Linked DNA regions of Homo sapiens: all the other regions are linked to region 1. The links are contacts of gene promoters, found by promoter capture Hi-C in blood cells and fetal thymus (Javierre and others, 2016). All regions are on one chromosome and are shown on one strand. The core of a region is centred on a gene start or on the middle of the fragment in contact, and the rest is flanking DNA. Distances in the headings are between cores, read along the strand shown.

What was found. The method cuts DNA at HindIII sites, captures the fragments that hold promoters and counts their contacts. A CHiCAGO score of 5 or more calls a contact.
Region 2: a fragment that was not itself captured here is called in contact with the fragment with the promoter of ACSM4 in region 1 in 1 of 17 cell types (M0 macrophages); the score reaches 5.3 in M0 macrophages.
Region 3: a contact is called between a fragment that was not itself captured here and the fragment with the promoter of ACSM4 in region 1, in 4 of 17 cell types (M2 macrophages, M1 macrophages, neutrophils and 1 more). The highest score is 9.6, in M2 macrophages.
Region 4: a fragment that was not itself captured here is called in contact with the fragment with the promoter of ACSM4 in region 1 in 1 of 17 cell types (M2 macrophages); the score reaches 5.7 in M2 macrophages.
Region 5: a fragment that was not itself captured here is called in contact with the fragment with the promoter of ACSM4 in region 1 in 3 of 17 cell types (naive CD4 T cells, total B cells and endothelial precursors); the score reaches 6.0 in naive CD4 T cells.

Annotation. Positions count from the first base shown.
Region 1 is chr12:7,302,607-7,305,488 of GRCh38, reverse strand. ACSM4 (acyl-CoA synthetase medium chain family member 4) reads right to left here and starts at 1,417. Exons shown (of 13, transcript NM_001080454.2): 1 at 957-1,417. The coding sequence starts at 1,157. The HindIII fragment of the contact is 4,163 bases long and covers 1-2,683 here.
Region 2 is chr12:7,647,465-7,650,346 of GRCh38, reverse strand. It overlaps APOBEC1 (apolipoprotein B mRNA editing enzyme catalytic subunit 1), which reads left to right. Exons shown (of 5, transcript NM_001644.5): 5 at 651-947. The coding sequence ends at 800. Among named protein-coding and RNA genes, the nearest start is that of APOBEC1, 17 kb to the left of the region's middle. The HindIII fragment of the contact is 3,723 bases long and covers 1-2,882 here.
Region 3 is chr12:7,625,379-7,628,260 of GRCh38, reverse strand. No RefSeq gene overlaps it. Among named protein-coding and RNA genes, the nearest start is that of APOBEC1, 39 kb to the left of the region's middle. The HindIII fragment of the contact is 7,553 bases long and covers 1-2,882 here.
Region 4 is chr12:7,603,510-7,606,391 of GRCh38, reverse strand. It overlaps the pseudogene NIFKP3. Among named protein-coding and RNA genes, the nearest start is that of APOBEC1, 61 kb to the left of the region's middle. The HindIII fragment of the contact is 8,497 bases long and covers 1-2,882 here.
Region 5 is chr12:7,564,818-7,567,699 of GRCh38, reverse strand. It overlaps the pseudogene GAPDHP31. Among named protein-coding and RNA genes, the nearest start is that of CD163, 62 kb to the right of the region's middle. The HindIII fragment of the contact is 1,581 bases long and covers 663-2,243 here.

The DNA of each region.
Region 1 (2,882 bases), core at 168-2,667:
TTTCTCAATCTTTAGTCATTTAAGTCTCATTGTTTCTGTCAGCTCTGCCTGCACCTGCACTATTCTTCTTTATTTTGTATACTTCGCTACATGGACTCACTTTTTACTTTTTACGTGTATACATTTACTTAAGAAGGAATATATATTTAATCAGCACCATTATTGGACAATTATTACCACTTGCCAAAAAATAGGTTATTGAAAAATAAATATGCTGAAAACAAAACTATGCCATTAAATTTTATCTAGAGATGATTAGCTTCTACCTGTGGTCTTTATTCAAGAGAGTGTTTAGCAAATGATAGGTGCTAAAGACACAATGGCTTTCAAGGAAGGCTTTCCCCCTGTATTTAACAGGAAGAATTGATTCAATGTTATTTAATACCTTGTCTGTCTAGTACCTAACATCATGTTCCCATCCATGGTCCTGCAGTGCATTTTGATAAGCACTGCTTGGTTAAGTGTTTAGCTCAGTGCCTGGCATGGGGTGAGGATCAGTACACAGAGACCTCATCCTGAGGCTGCACTGTAAACATTGCATAAGGGCCGCTTGCTTTATTCTTGTCAACCTCCAATTCTCTCCTCATTACTCCAATGATAACTGTATTCATAAAATCAAAACTCAATTTGCTACTTTTTCGATAAGCCTGTGACCAACTTGAAAACAAAGCACTGTTGCATGGGGCTTGGAGAAAAGAGAAGGAAAAGAGGCAGAACTCTGTGAGGAACGACCATGGGGATGGGAGATAGAGAAGGCTCCAGAGCCGCCCAGCCATTTGTGGCTGAGGATCTAAGATCTTCCCTGGGGAGAGGGGAGGGCAATTGGAAAACAAACAAAGGAAACCAAGAGGGTGAGAGAGTGCATTGGAATTAAGTGGTAGACCACAGAACAAGGAAATGGAAGACTGAGAGATAAGGGGACACCAAGCATCTACTGGAAGCCCATCGTCATATACCTTCTCCTTTTGGGACCACTGGTCCAGCACATCTGCAGCAAAGTTAAAGTTTTTAGGCAATGGCCTGTTACAGCGATTTATGGCTTCAAAGTCAGCAAGAGTCAGAGGCGTCCAAAGCTGGTGATCTTTGTGTAAGCGCCGGCCAGGTGGCTTGGTGAGCCAGATGAATCTAAATGTCTGGTAGCGGAAAAAAATCTTCATGGTTCCCAAAGGACTTTGTCTACTGCTATGGACACAGAAGTACTACAGCCTGTAGGGAGAGATGGATAGAGAGTATCAGTTTCTTGATGCTCTGTGGTGAGACTGGGAGGTGGATTTGTGGCTGTGTGTCCCTGGCAAGTTGGGGAACACCTGAAAAACACCTCATCCTTCCTCAGAGCTGCTGCCTTAGCCACTGACTGGTCTCCCTGCCACTGGACCCTTCCTCTTCATTCTGTCTGTGACCAGATGAGTCTAAAAAAACCCCTTAACTACAGAATTGTCAGACTCCTGTCTTCTGTTCCTGTCTTCTCCCCAACCAAACAACAGACAAATAGAAACTTCGCTGTCTGGACTGGCATTCAGAGCCTCCTTTCGCCTGCTTTATACACTGTTCTGTGTCTGCTAACTCCTCTACTTGAATTTCCTCTTCCAGTAAAGGAGGCCCGTTAACTTGCCATGAATGCCCCACTAAGAGTTGGCCTGTCATTTCCCTGGCTCCTGCTTACCCTGTTCTCCTCTCCCCTTCAACTTCCCATTGTGATTGCTTGGAAACCTGGGTTTAAGTCCTGGTTCAGCCACTTTCCGGCTGTAGGACTTTGGACAAGTTACTTATCTTCCTGCACCTCAATTTTCTCATCTGTAAAATAGGGGAAAATATAGTACCTCCCTCCTACAGTTATTGTGAGGATTTAATAAGATAATGTGTATAAAATGCCTAGCTCGTAAAAGGTGACTTCAAAGTGTTAATTACTACTGTTGTTTTTTTGTTTTTCTGTTTGTTTGTTGTTTATTAAGAAACAAGGTCTTGCTCTTTCACCCAGGTTGGCGCAATCACAGCTTACTGAAGCCTCAAACTCCTAGGCTTAAGCAATCCCCCTGACTAAGCATCCTGAGCATCTAGGACTACAGGGGCCACACCACCATGCCTTGCTAATTTTTTTTTTTTTTTTTTTGTAGAGATATGGCCTCACTATGTCACCCAGGCTGGCTTGCCTCCAACTCCTAGCCTCAAGTAATCTTCCTGCCTTGGCCTCCCAAAGTGCTGGGATTGTAGGTATGAGCCACTGCACCCAGGCAACCACTGCTGTTGTTAAGATTATTTTCCTTAATATTATTGTGGCATAGTTTTATTTTAAAAAATCCTACCATATGAACCAGAAGACTTGGATTTTATTTCTTTTTCAAAAACTGCTTTTAATATTGGTAAAATTGCCTGCTCTTTCTGGACTACCATCTGTAATCTAATTAATTTTTTAAATAATTTTGTGTTTATTTCTTCCCTGGGTTTTCCGTAACATGCATTTATGCTATTCATGTGACAGTTGTCTACTTTGTATTATCAATGATAGTTTTTCATATATGTGCCCTGTCTCCCTACCCAGCCGGTATGGGTTGAGGCTATGTAATGTGTTCTTAGCACTAAGCATGACTCACAGAAGATCTGCAATAATAAAAGGCAGTTTTTAGGTTCTTGATGTAGGCAGGCACTTTGCATTTCTGATGTCATTCAATATTCATGACAAGCTTGTGAGGTTGGTGCTATTATTATCTCTATCTTACAGATGAAGACACTGAGGTTTAAGTACACTTAAGGATCTTATCCAAGGTCATTCAGCTCGAGACAAACCATGTCTTGCCTCTGCCACCATGAGCTCAATGACGCAACCAGAGGCAAGGTTTGAACCTCTCTGGTCTGACTTCAGAACTTAACCTACTCAGCTTCTC
Region 2 (2,882 bases), core at 136-2,635, 340 kb before region 1:
CCTCAAACTCCGAATTCCTAGCCTCAAGCAATCCTCTGACCTCAGCCTTCTGGGTAGCTAGAACTACAGGCGTGTGTCATCATGTCTGGCTTTATCATTATTATTGTTCTTGTTACTACAACACATATTGGCTCTACTGTATTTCAGATATTCTCCTTTCTCTTATTAGTGTGTGTAATCTTATTGAAGAGAATGTACGTGTTCCATTGGATTCTCTTGAAAGTGGTTCAGGCTGGGTGCAGTGGCTCATGCTTGTAATCCTAGCACTTTGGGAGGCAGAGGGGAGTGGATGGCTTGAGCCCAGAAGTTGGAGACCAGCCTGGGCAACATGGCGAAACCACATCTCAACAAAAACACAAAAAAATTAGCTGGGTGTGGTGGTGCGTGCCTGTAGTCCCAGCTACTTGGGAGGCTGAGGTGGGAGAATTGTTTGAGCCTAGGAGGTTGAGGCTGCAGTGAGCTGTGATTGCACCACTGCGCTCCAGCCTGGGTGAATGCAGTGAGTCCAGAACCAGACCCTGTCTGGGAAAAAAAAAAAAGAAGAAATAGTTAAATCGTCTTCCAACTGACATTTTTAAATGTTTGTGGTGATAATATTATTAATTAAAATATTCATCCTAAGGATTAAATATAATCCTTTTTTATTCCAGAGTCTTCCACCCTGTTTAAAGATTTCAAGAAGATGGCAAAATCATCTTACATTTTTCAGACTTCATCTTCAAAACTGCCATTACCAAACGATTCCGCCACACATCCTTTTAGCTACAGGGCTGATACATCCTTCTGTGGCTTGGAGATGAATAGGATGATTCCGTGTGTGTACTGATTCAAGAACAAGCAATGATGACCCACTAAAGAGTGAATGCCATTTAGAATCTAGAAATGTTCACAAGGTACCCCAAAACTCTGTAGCTTAAACCAACAATAAATATGTATTACCTCTGGCAGTTTCTGTGGGTAAGGAATTTAGAAGCAGCTTATCTGTGTGTTCCTGTCTCAGGTCCCCCACGAGGTTGTAGTCAAGATGGCAGCCAGCGCTGCAATCATTTGAGGGCTTGACTGAGGCTGGAGAATGTGCTTCCCAGGTGGCAGGCTCAGATGGCTGGCAAGTTTGTGCTAGTGGCTGGTAGAAGGTTTCAGTTTCTTGCCACACAGGCCTCTCCACAGGGTTGCTTAAATAACCTCAGGACATGGCAGTTGGCTTCCTACAGATTAATTTACCTTTTGAAAAATTTCCTGTAGAGATGGAGTTTTGCTGTGTTGCCCAGGCTGGTCTCAAAGTCCTGGACTCAAGTGATCCACCAGCCTCGGCCTACCAAAGTGCTGGGATTACCGGTGTGAGCCACCATACCTGGCCCAGAGCGAGTGATCGAAGAGAGACCAAGGTGGAAATTTCCACGACTTTGATGACTTCATCTTGGAATCACACCCTATTTCTTTTGCAGTATTCTATTTGTTACACAGGCCAGCCATGACTCAGAGTAAGAGGGGACTCATACACAAGGATTTGAAACTCAGGACATGAAAATCACTGGAAGCCATCTTGGATTTTCCCTGTAGGGGCTTTCTCTGTTTTCAGACAAATAATTACATGGAATCAATTTCTGAAGACACAGATAGAGGGAAACAAAAGACAAAGTAGTAACATCTATTATTATTTGTTTCTTAATTAGAATATCATGAGATTCACAGGTGATTTATAGAGGACTGGATGACCAGATGCAGAGAGGAGCTACCATCTCCATGAGAGCTTCGGAGACCTGCAGAGACATTGCATGACTTGCCTGCGGAAGTTGTTTGATAGGAATTCTCATTGGTTTACAGAAATAATATTGGTTAGTGATTGGCTATACATGGTGTCCAGCACAGGGCATTTTGTGGCTGCTTAGTGTCAGTCTAGAGCCCATGTTGCAAGGGGCTTTAAGAGGTAATTAGCTCAAGCAGAGAGTGAGATGTGATTGCTGTCACATTTTTTTTTTAAGTTTTTTTTTTTTTTTTTTTTTTTTTTTGAGACAGAGTCTCACTCTGTCGCCCACGCTGGAGTGCAGTGGCACAATGTCCGGCTCACTGCAAGCTCCGCCTCCCAGGTTCAGGCCATTCTCCTGCCTCAGTCTCCCGAGTAGCTGGGACTACAGGCGCCCGCCACCACGCCCGGCTAATTTTTTGTATTTTTAGTACAGACGGTGTTTCACCGTGTTAGCCAGGCTGGTCTCGATCTCCTGACCTCATGGTCCGCCCGCCTTGGCCTCCCAAAGTGCTGGGATTACAGGCGTGAGCCACTGCGTCCAGCCTGCTGTCACATTTTAAATATTCCTCTGGGCTTGATAATTTAAAGGAGCTCACATTCCTCAGATAAAATGTTCATTTTCTTTCTCAAACCTAAACATAATATTAACCACCGCTATATTATCATTTTTAGTAGGAGGATGAGAAGGGCTAAATCAGACACAATTACAAAAAACTCTTAGCCTACTCATCAATTACTCATATAAGCTGAGTAACAGCAATTCTAATTTATAACTCCTTTATAATAATATTAAATCTACTAATGAGGCTGGGCGCGGTGACTCATGCCTGTAATCCTAGCACTTTGGGAGGTCGAGGAGGGCAGATCACTTGAGGTCAGGAGTTCGAGACCAGCCTGGCCAACATGGTGAAACGCGGTCTCTACTAAAAATACAAAAATTAGCTGGGCGTGGTGGTGCACGCCCGTAATCCCAGCTACTCAGGAAGCTGAGGCAGGAGAATCGCTTGAACCTGGGAGGCGGAGGTTGCAGTGAGCCGAGATTGCACCATTGCACTCCAGCCTGTGGGACAAGAGTGAAACTCCATCTCAAAAAAAACCCCATAAATAAATAAATAAATAATAAATTTACGAATGA
Region 3 (2,882 bases), core at 140-2,639, 320 kb before region 1:
GCAGGAGAATCGCTTGAACCTGGGGGGCGGAGGTTGCAGTGAGCAGAGATCGCGCCACTGCACTCCAGCCCGGGCGACAGAGCTAGACTCCATCTAAAAACAACAACAACACAAAATCGCGCCACTACACTCCAGCCAGGATGGTGAGACCCTGTCTCAAAACAAACAGCTGCAACATAAAAAACCCAAAAACCAAACCATAACAAAAAAAACCTGGAAATTGAACTTGGGCCCAGGATGGAAACTGACTACCTGAAGAGGTGCTTTGGAAATTGCCTGGCCCAGGCACTTGCACTTGACATGCATGGGGTATATTCTTCCACGTACAATTACATATATGCATTCATATGATTATGTACAGTAGTAGTAGATTATTAAATGTTGAAGAGCACTAACACACCATGTACATAATGGAACTGTATTTAATATTTATTTTTGGTAGTGATATGGCACATGAAAATAATTTGTTTTCTCATGTAGAAAATTCAGGGAATGGCTTAAATAGAATTTCAGCTTTGGGGGCTCATAATTGAGTGAGAGGCTTCTTCCTTGATTCCCCTGAGAAGGAAGAAATCTTCATTTTTGGTTTGCAAGACCATGAAAACAGTAAGTACAACAAATGAAATACTTTACACTCAAGGAAACATGTTTTAAAAAACAGAGAAGATATAGAAAAGAAGTATAAGTAATATATTCAAAGAGAGACTAAACGATATTTTATTAATTTTAAAAGCCATAGATTATAAAAATAAAAGTTTGCCCTATGAAAATAGAAAGAAAATCCTTAAGATAGTAGGTGAAGAACAGAATGGATAATGCCAGAAAAATTTTGACCCGAGAGACCTAAATAAGTAATTCTCCCAAAATACAGTAAAAGGGGAATAATGACAAAGAATATAAAAGAGATACGGAGGATACATATACAGAAATTTCAATATGCATCCAAGTTATAGAAATATTAAATGGAGTAGAGTACAATCAATAATAATTATAACAACAATAAATGAGAAATTTTCAGGATTTAGCTAAAACATAAATCTTCATCTAAACTTCAGAGTGGAAAAACACATAATACTCAAAGGAAATACAATTATATTGACTTCCAATTTCTCATCACCAACACTAGGAAGAAGAAAATTTAAAAGAAAAATCTTTGTCACCTTGGGTAAGCAAAGAGTTCTTGGACATAAGACCAACACCAAAGGACAAACTAATAAGGTAGATATTATGAAAATTAAAAACTTTACTTCTTCAAAAGACCATTAAAAGATTGGAAGGCTAGCCATAGTCTGGAAGAAAATAATTGCACATCATATAGTTAATAAGTTTGTATCTAGAATACATAAAGAACTCTCATAACTCAATTTTAAAGAGTAAACAATAGGCAAAAAGATTTGAACAGATACTTCCCCAGGGAAGATACTCAGATAGAAAATAGGCACCTGAAATTAACATCACTAGTCATTAGAGAAATGCAAATTAAAACCACAACCAAATACCAATACACAATGATTAGAATAGCTAAAATAAAAAGACTTTACAATACCACATACTGGCAAGGAGGAGGAATAACTAAAAATTTCTTATTGTTTAAATGCAGAGTGGTACCATGGGGCTGGAGCCTACTAGTCTAATGAGGTTTTAGCTTAATAAAAGTGTTTAATTTTCATTCAATTAATGTGGGATAAAGTTTTACAGTCCTTATTTTTCAGGAATTAAGTATGATATACTTGCTTAAGACTTTGAGGGTTGTTGTTCTGGCTAACCTAAATTCCTGATCCAATGCTAAAAATATTCGTGCAAGGGGGAAAGAAAAGATTGATAATATCCTAAGTGGAGATAGAAAGGCTATTTTGTTTGTATTCTTCACCTGGCATTTTGTTTTTATGTTGTTGGTTGTTGGCAATATTTTAAGTGGTGTAGAGTAAATCAGTCAGACATAAAAATATAAACTAAGTAAAGCTATGATAGCTACAAATGTTGGTATAATAAACTATTGTTCTTTGACATGAATAATAATTCATTTAGGTAAAAATCTGGTAAGTGATGGTAGACTTCCTAAGGAAAATAAGGTAACTGAAATTGTGGTTGCTTAGGGTGATAATTGATTTCATGTGTATGATGATGATAATGCTGTGGTACATATATTTAATAATAATTGCCTTCTGGGAGCACAGCTTAAATTTCTCATTTGCTTTACATCCTGCTGCTCATTTGAAATTTTCATTGGTTCACAGATATTTTAAGTAGCAAACACAGCTCTGAGGGCAGAAAATGAGACAGTTATTGCCTTGAATTATACTTCTGATGGTGCGAAGAGTAGCTCTTTCCCCCCGCCATCATACTTACTGTGATCTCTGTGGCTCCTGTAATTTTTTTTTCCTTTCCATAAACCAGAAATACATCATCAGAACAATTTATGGCTAGGCATGCCTGTAATCCCAGCACTCTGGGAGGCTGAGGTGGATGGATCACCTGAGGTCAGGAGTTCGAGACCAGCCTGGCCAACATGGCAAAACACTGTCTCTACTAAAATACCAAAAGATTAGCCAGGTCTGGTGGTGTGCGCCTGTACTCCCAGCCACTTAGGAGGCTGAGGCAGGAGAATCGCTTGAACCTGGGAGGCGGAGGTTGCAGTGAGCCGAGATCATGCCATTGCACTCCAGCCTGGGTGACAGAGGGAGACTCCGTCTCAAAAGAAGAAAAAAAAAAGAAAAATTTATTATTGAAATACTCAGTCAGCACCTGCAGCCCTCCCTACCAAGATGGCTTTGTGGCAGGCCAGGTCTCACTAATGCAGGCCTCCATAACAACTGTTTCAGAGTGGTTAACTATTAAAAGCCAGTGCTCTTATACACAGGTTGGAATGTAACAAAAGCCCA
Region 4 (2,882 bases), core at 240-2,739, 300 kb before region 1:
TCCCCCAGTTCCTCATTGGTCGAGTACTATGGGGTTACAATCTTCCCAGACGTCACCTAAGTTTCATTATCTCCTTATAGGGTCACACCCTGGTCCCCTTCCTTGCTTAAGTTTTTGTTTCCCAATAGCAAAACTTTATTCCCTTTTATGGGCTGACCCCTCCTCTACATTCTGTTTGCTTATTATGACTTTCTACGTGCATAAGCTGTGCAGTTTGTCATATCCGCAGGCTGGCTGCGAGTACTTAGGTCTATCATGCCTTGAAAATGGACCATTAAAATGTTTTCTTACAAGTTCCCTTTTTTTTCTTTCCTTTCCTTTTCTTCTCTTCTCTTTTCTTTCTTGCTTTCTTTCTTTCTTTCTTTCTTTCTTTCTTTTCATCTTTTGGTCTTATTTTTACTTTAATTTTTGGGTCCTTTCGTCCTCAAATCATTTTAGGACTACTTTACTTTCTTCTTCATAGTCTGGTTCAGTGTCTAACAACAGTAAGTTATTTTGCTGGTAGGTCATGGGCATTTGTTTGTTAATAGCTGTTCCAATTAACCTTTGTGCTAGTTCCAGTATACAAGGGATAATATAGCATCCCACTGCCCTTAAGGCCCTTGCTACAATTATGAGAGATGTAAGGACTGAAGCTACCATGCCTTTCCATTTCCCAAACCAACCTTCTAGCCAACCAGTAAATCGGTCATCAATTCCAGCATTTTCTGCCAGTTTGTTGGTGAGAGTTTTCCGTCCTTGTAATGCTTTTGTAATAGTTCAATCTGGGGCAGTATTGTTGGGAATGAAAATACAACATTTCCCACCCAGCATAACACATATGCCCCCTTTATCTGCTAGTATCATGTCTAGCTCAAGCCTCTTTTCCCAGGCCATTCAGCTGGTGGCATGTAACTGGCTAGTTAATTAAACTCGGGTGTCCCGAGTATAATTGATGAATTTCTGTTGATAATAATAAATAGAATTAATCCAATCCACATTTTTATTAATAGCTGATCATGAGAGGAGTGCTGACTGAAACCCAGCAGCTATTTGGTTTCAGGCCTTAAATTCATTAGGCATCCCCTCTAGGGACTCCTATGAAGGCAACATATATATTACGATCAAAAAAATTTGTTGGGGAGCTGAGAACCTGACGTTTCTAGGAGTGCCTCGTAGAGTTAGTGATGGCCGCTTTTGGCATGGCAGCCTTTTCTGTACCAGCTGGGCCAATCCTGTCACTTAACCCGCAGGAAGATGTCGAGTTTCAAAAGGAGGTGGTAGAGGTTTGCAAGTGCACAACCCAGCAAAAAGAACAAGAACAACTTACTCCTAGAGTAGTCTTTGTGTGCCACCTACTTAATGAAACCCAGATCTTTTCGTATTTCTCCCAGTTTGGCACTGTTACATGGTTCAGACTGTTCAGAAGTAAAAGGACTGGAAATAGCAAAGGCTATGCATCTGCAAGTTTGAGTTTGAGGATGTTGCCAAGATAGTTGATGAAACAATGAACAAGTACCTGTTTGGTGAAAGACTCTTGGAGTGTCATTATATGCCACCTGAAAAAGTACACAAAGAGCTCTTTAAAGACTGGAATATTCCATTTAAGCAGCCATCTTATCATCAGTGAAATGTTATAATCAGAATCGGACACTAACACAAAAGCTACGGATGGAGGAGTGATTTAAAAAGAAACAAAGATTACTCAGGAAGAAATGAGCTAAAAAAGGAATTGATTATGATTTTCCTTCTTTGATTTTACAGAAAACAGAAAGTATTTTAAAAACTAATCATCAGACATCTACAAAAGGCCAGGTTTTCTGTAAGAAGAAGAAAAGGGTTTTTGGCACTCTTGACACTCCTGAGAAGACCGTGGATAGCCAGGGCCCCACACCAGTTTGTACACCAGTATTTTTGGAGAGACAAAAATCTGAAGTGGCTGAAATGAATGATGATGATAAATATAATGAAATAGTTTTCTAACAGCCCATATCCTGTATAAAAGAAGAAATACAAGAGACTCAAACACCTACACATTCACAGAAAAAAGAAGAAAAACAATCAGTGATTTTCAATGTATTATGTGTAATATTTCTTCTGAAAAATATAATATTTTTATGAGAAAAAAAGAATTTGTTAAGTCTCTCTTGTTCCAATGGCCATGTGTATTTTCAGGTATTTTATGGAATGCCAGGGTGAAGGGAATGGCCAATTGAACTAAAGCACAAGTCCTGGTCCAATTAGATGGTAACAGGTTACCGAGGTTCCTGTTCCCATAATACCATCAGACATCAGCCCAGGGTATATAAAAGCTGAGTAATTGCCATTGCCTGACTTACCTGTGATGTTTAGAATGTGGGTACAAGTCGAGAGTTCTCCCATAGGCTTATTGAACTCTGCCCCTGCCTAAAGAGGCAAGAGGAGTGGTTCATATTCCCTATAGAGAAGGAGGGGATTGCTCTGGAATCTGACCTCCACAATGTGGGAAAGATCAATGACAGACTCTTATGAGTCTCATTTCCCCATGCATCCTTGTCCTGGTTTAGAGCCAACATGCAACACATTCCTTCAGGATCAATACCCAGCCTAGGGGAAACAGAAACACCTGTGCCTGAGGTCCTCCCACAGCACACGTGTAGCAGTTGCTCTTGTTCAGTGTTTATACCAAAAATTTGAGCCATTTGACCCAGGCATTCACATCTCTGTTCCCTGTCTCAGTTTCTAAGGTTTGCCATAAATCCTTTACTTCAATTATTTCTACTCTTTTAGGGTCATTATTTGATGGATTAAAGTGTGTGTTAGGGACTGGGGTTGGAGTAGTCCCAGGCAAATGGGAGGTCAAGTTCTTAATCAGTTTGAGAACAAATCTCTCTATGGGGGCTTTTCCTGTGATGTCTGCCCCT
Region 5 (2,882 bases), core at 204-2,703, 260 kb before region 1:
AATGTGATGCCTTCAACTTTGTTTTCCTCAACACTGTTTTGATTACTTGAAGTATGTTGTGGTTTCACACAAATTTTAGAATGGTTTTTTCTATTTCTATGAAAAATATCTTTTTTTTTTTGGCTGAGTACAGGGGACTTTATTGATGGTAAATGACATGGTGGGGCTCCCTAGGTCTCTCCTTCTTCAGAGGATCTGGAAACTGTGAGGAGAGAAGATTCTGTGTGGTCGGGGACTGAGTGCAGCAGGGAATCCCCAGCAGCTAAGGGTCCCTCTCTTCTTCCTGCGCTCTCCCTGGGGTTAGTGATTGGGGGATTTTACTCCTCAGAGGCCATGTGTACCATGAGTCCATCACCTTGTTACTGTAGGCAAATTCATTGCCATACCAGGAAATGAGCTTGACAAAGTGGTCATTGACGGCAATGCCAGCCCCAGCTTCAAAGGTGGAAGGGCGGGTATTGCTTTTAAATTCCAAAGGGACAACCTGGTGCTCAGTATAGCCCAGGATGCCCTTGAGGGGTCCTTGGGTGCCTGCCTCACCACCTTTTTGATGTCTGAAGAAACCTGTCTAGCAGGTTTCTCCAGACAAGAGGTCAGTTCCACAACTGACACAGTGGTGCTGGGAACACAGAAGACCATGCCAGTGAGCTTCCCATTAAGCTTAGGAATGACCTTGCCCTCTCATTGCCCATTTACTTGGCAGCACCAGTAGATGCAGGAATGGTGTTCTGGAAAGCCCCATGGCTGTCATGCCAGAGTTTCCTGGAGGGGCCATCCACAGTCTTCTGGGTGGCAATGATGCTGTGGACTGTGGTCATGAGTCCCTCCCTGATGCCAAAGTTGTCATGAATGACCTTGGCCAGGGGATCTAAGCAGTTGGTGGTACAGGAGGCATTGCTGATGACTGTGAGTTTGTTTTCATGCTTATGGTTCATGCCCATCACAAACATGGGGACATCTGCAGAGGGGATGGAGATGATGAACCTTTTGGTTCCCCTCTCCAGGTGAGCCCCAGCCTTTGCCAAGGTAGTGAAGATGCCATTGGACTCCATGACATAATTAGCACCAGCATTATCTCATTTGGTTTTGGTGAGCTCTCACTCCTGGAAGATAGTGACGGGATTTCCATTGATGACTAGCTTCCCATTCTCAGCCTTGATGGTACCATGGAACTTGCCATGGGTGGGATCATAATGGAACATGTAGACCATGTAGTTGAGGTCAATGAAAGGGCCATTGGTGGTAACAGTATCCACTTTGCCAGGATTAAAAGCAGCTATCATGAACAGGCACCTAATATGGCCAAATCCATTTACTCCTGCCTTCACTTTCACTCTGGTGTCTCAGGAAGAGGGCTGATGCTGCATAAGAAAATTGGATATTTGTCCAATGGGAGAAGCAGGGAGGTCGCTGGAATTTTGATGGGGTTGCACTGAAAATGCTTATCATTTTAGGTGGTATAAACAGTCCTAATATCTTGAGACCAAAGATGTCAGGTATTTATATCTGTTCTTTCCAGTTCCTTCTAGATACCCTCAGCTAAGACAACTAAAAAACATGCACAAGCCTTATATATGAAATAAGGAAAGTATAAAATGCTAATGTTACAATTACAATTGTTAAAAAGCTGGTGATCATTCTTTTCAGAGATACAACATACCTACTGTTGACACACACTTAAAGTATTTAACCTGGAAACAAATTACTTGCTGGGGCTATAATGCTATCACATGAGATAGGAGCCCAACTTAATATACTACTATTATTAGCTCATATATCCCATCTCCCAATCTTTTCTAAAAATTATTTTACTTTAAGTTCCCAGATACATGTGCAGAATGTGCAGGTTGGTTACTTTGGTATATGTGTGCCTTGGTGGTTTTCTGCACTATTGACCCATCCTCTAGGTTCCCTCCCCTCACCCACAAACCCTCAACAAGCCCTGGTGTGTGTTGTTTCCCTCCCTATGTCCACGTGTTCTCATTGTTCAACTTCCACTTATGAGTGAGAACATGCAGTATTTGGTTTTCTGTTCCTGTGTTAGTTTGCTGAAGATGATGGCTTCCAGCTTCATCCATGCTCCTGCAAAGGACATGATCTCATTCCTTTTTATGGCTGCATGGTATTCCACAGTGTAGATGTACCACATTTTCTTTTCCAGTCTGCCATTGATGCATATATTCTCTTTAAATTGATTCCAACAGAAGTTGTGTTTCCTTTTTTTTAACCTAGAAGAATAAGCTTGGATAAAAGTTATGTTTTTCTTAATAAAGAGACATATTTCTTTTTTTCTTTTTTTTAAATTATACTTTAAGTTCTAGGGTGCATGTGCACAACGCGCAGGTTTGTTACATATGTATATATGTGCCACGTTGGTGTGCTGCGCCCATTAACTCATCATTTACAGTAGGTATTTCTCCTAATGCTATCCTTCCCCCCTTCCCCCACCCCACAACAGGCCCCGGTGTGTGATGCTCCCCATCCTCTGTCCAAGTGTTCTTGTTGTTCAATTCCCACCTATGAGTGAGAACATGTAGTGTTTGGTTTTCTGTTCTTGCGATAGTTTGCTCAGAATGATAGCTTCCAGCTTCATCCATGTCCCTGCAAAGGACATGAATTCATCTTATTTTATGGCTGCATAGTATTCCATGGTGTATATGTGCCACATTTTCTTAATCCAGTCTATCATTGATGGACATTTGGGTTGGTTCCAAGTCTTTGCTATTGTGAATAGTGCCACAATAAACATACGTGTGCATGTGTCTTTATAGCAGCATGATTTATAATCCTTTGGGTATATACCCAGTAATGGGATGGCTGGGTCAAATGGTATTTCTAGTTCTGGATCCTTGTGGAATTGCCACACTGTCTTCCACAATGGT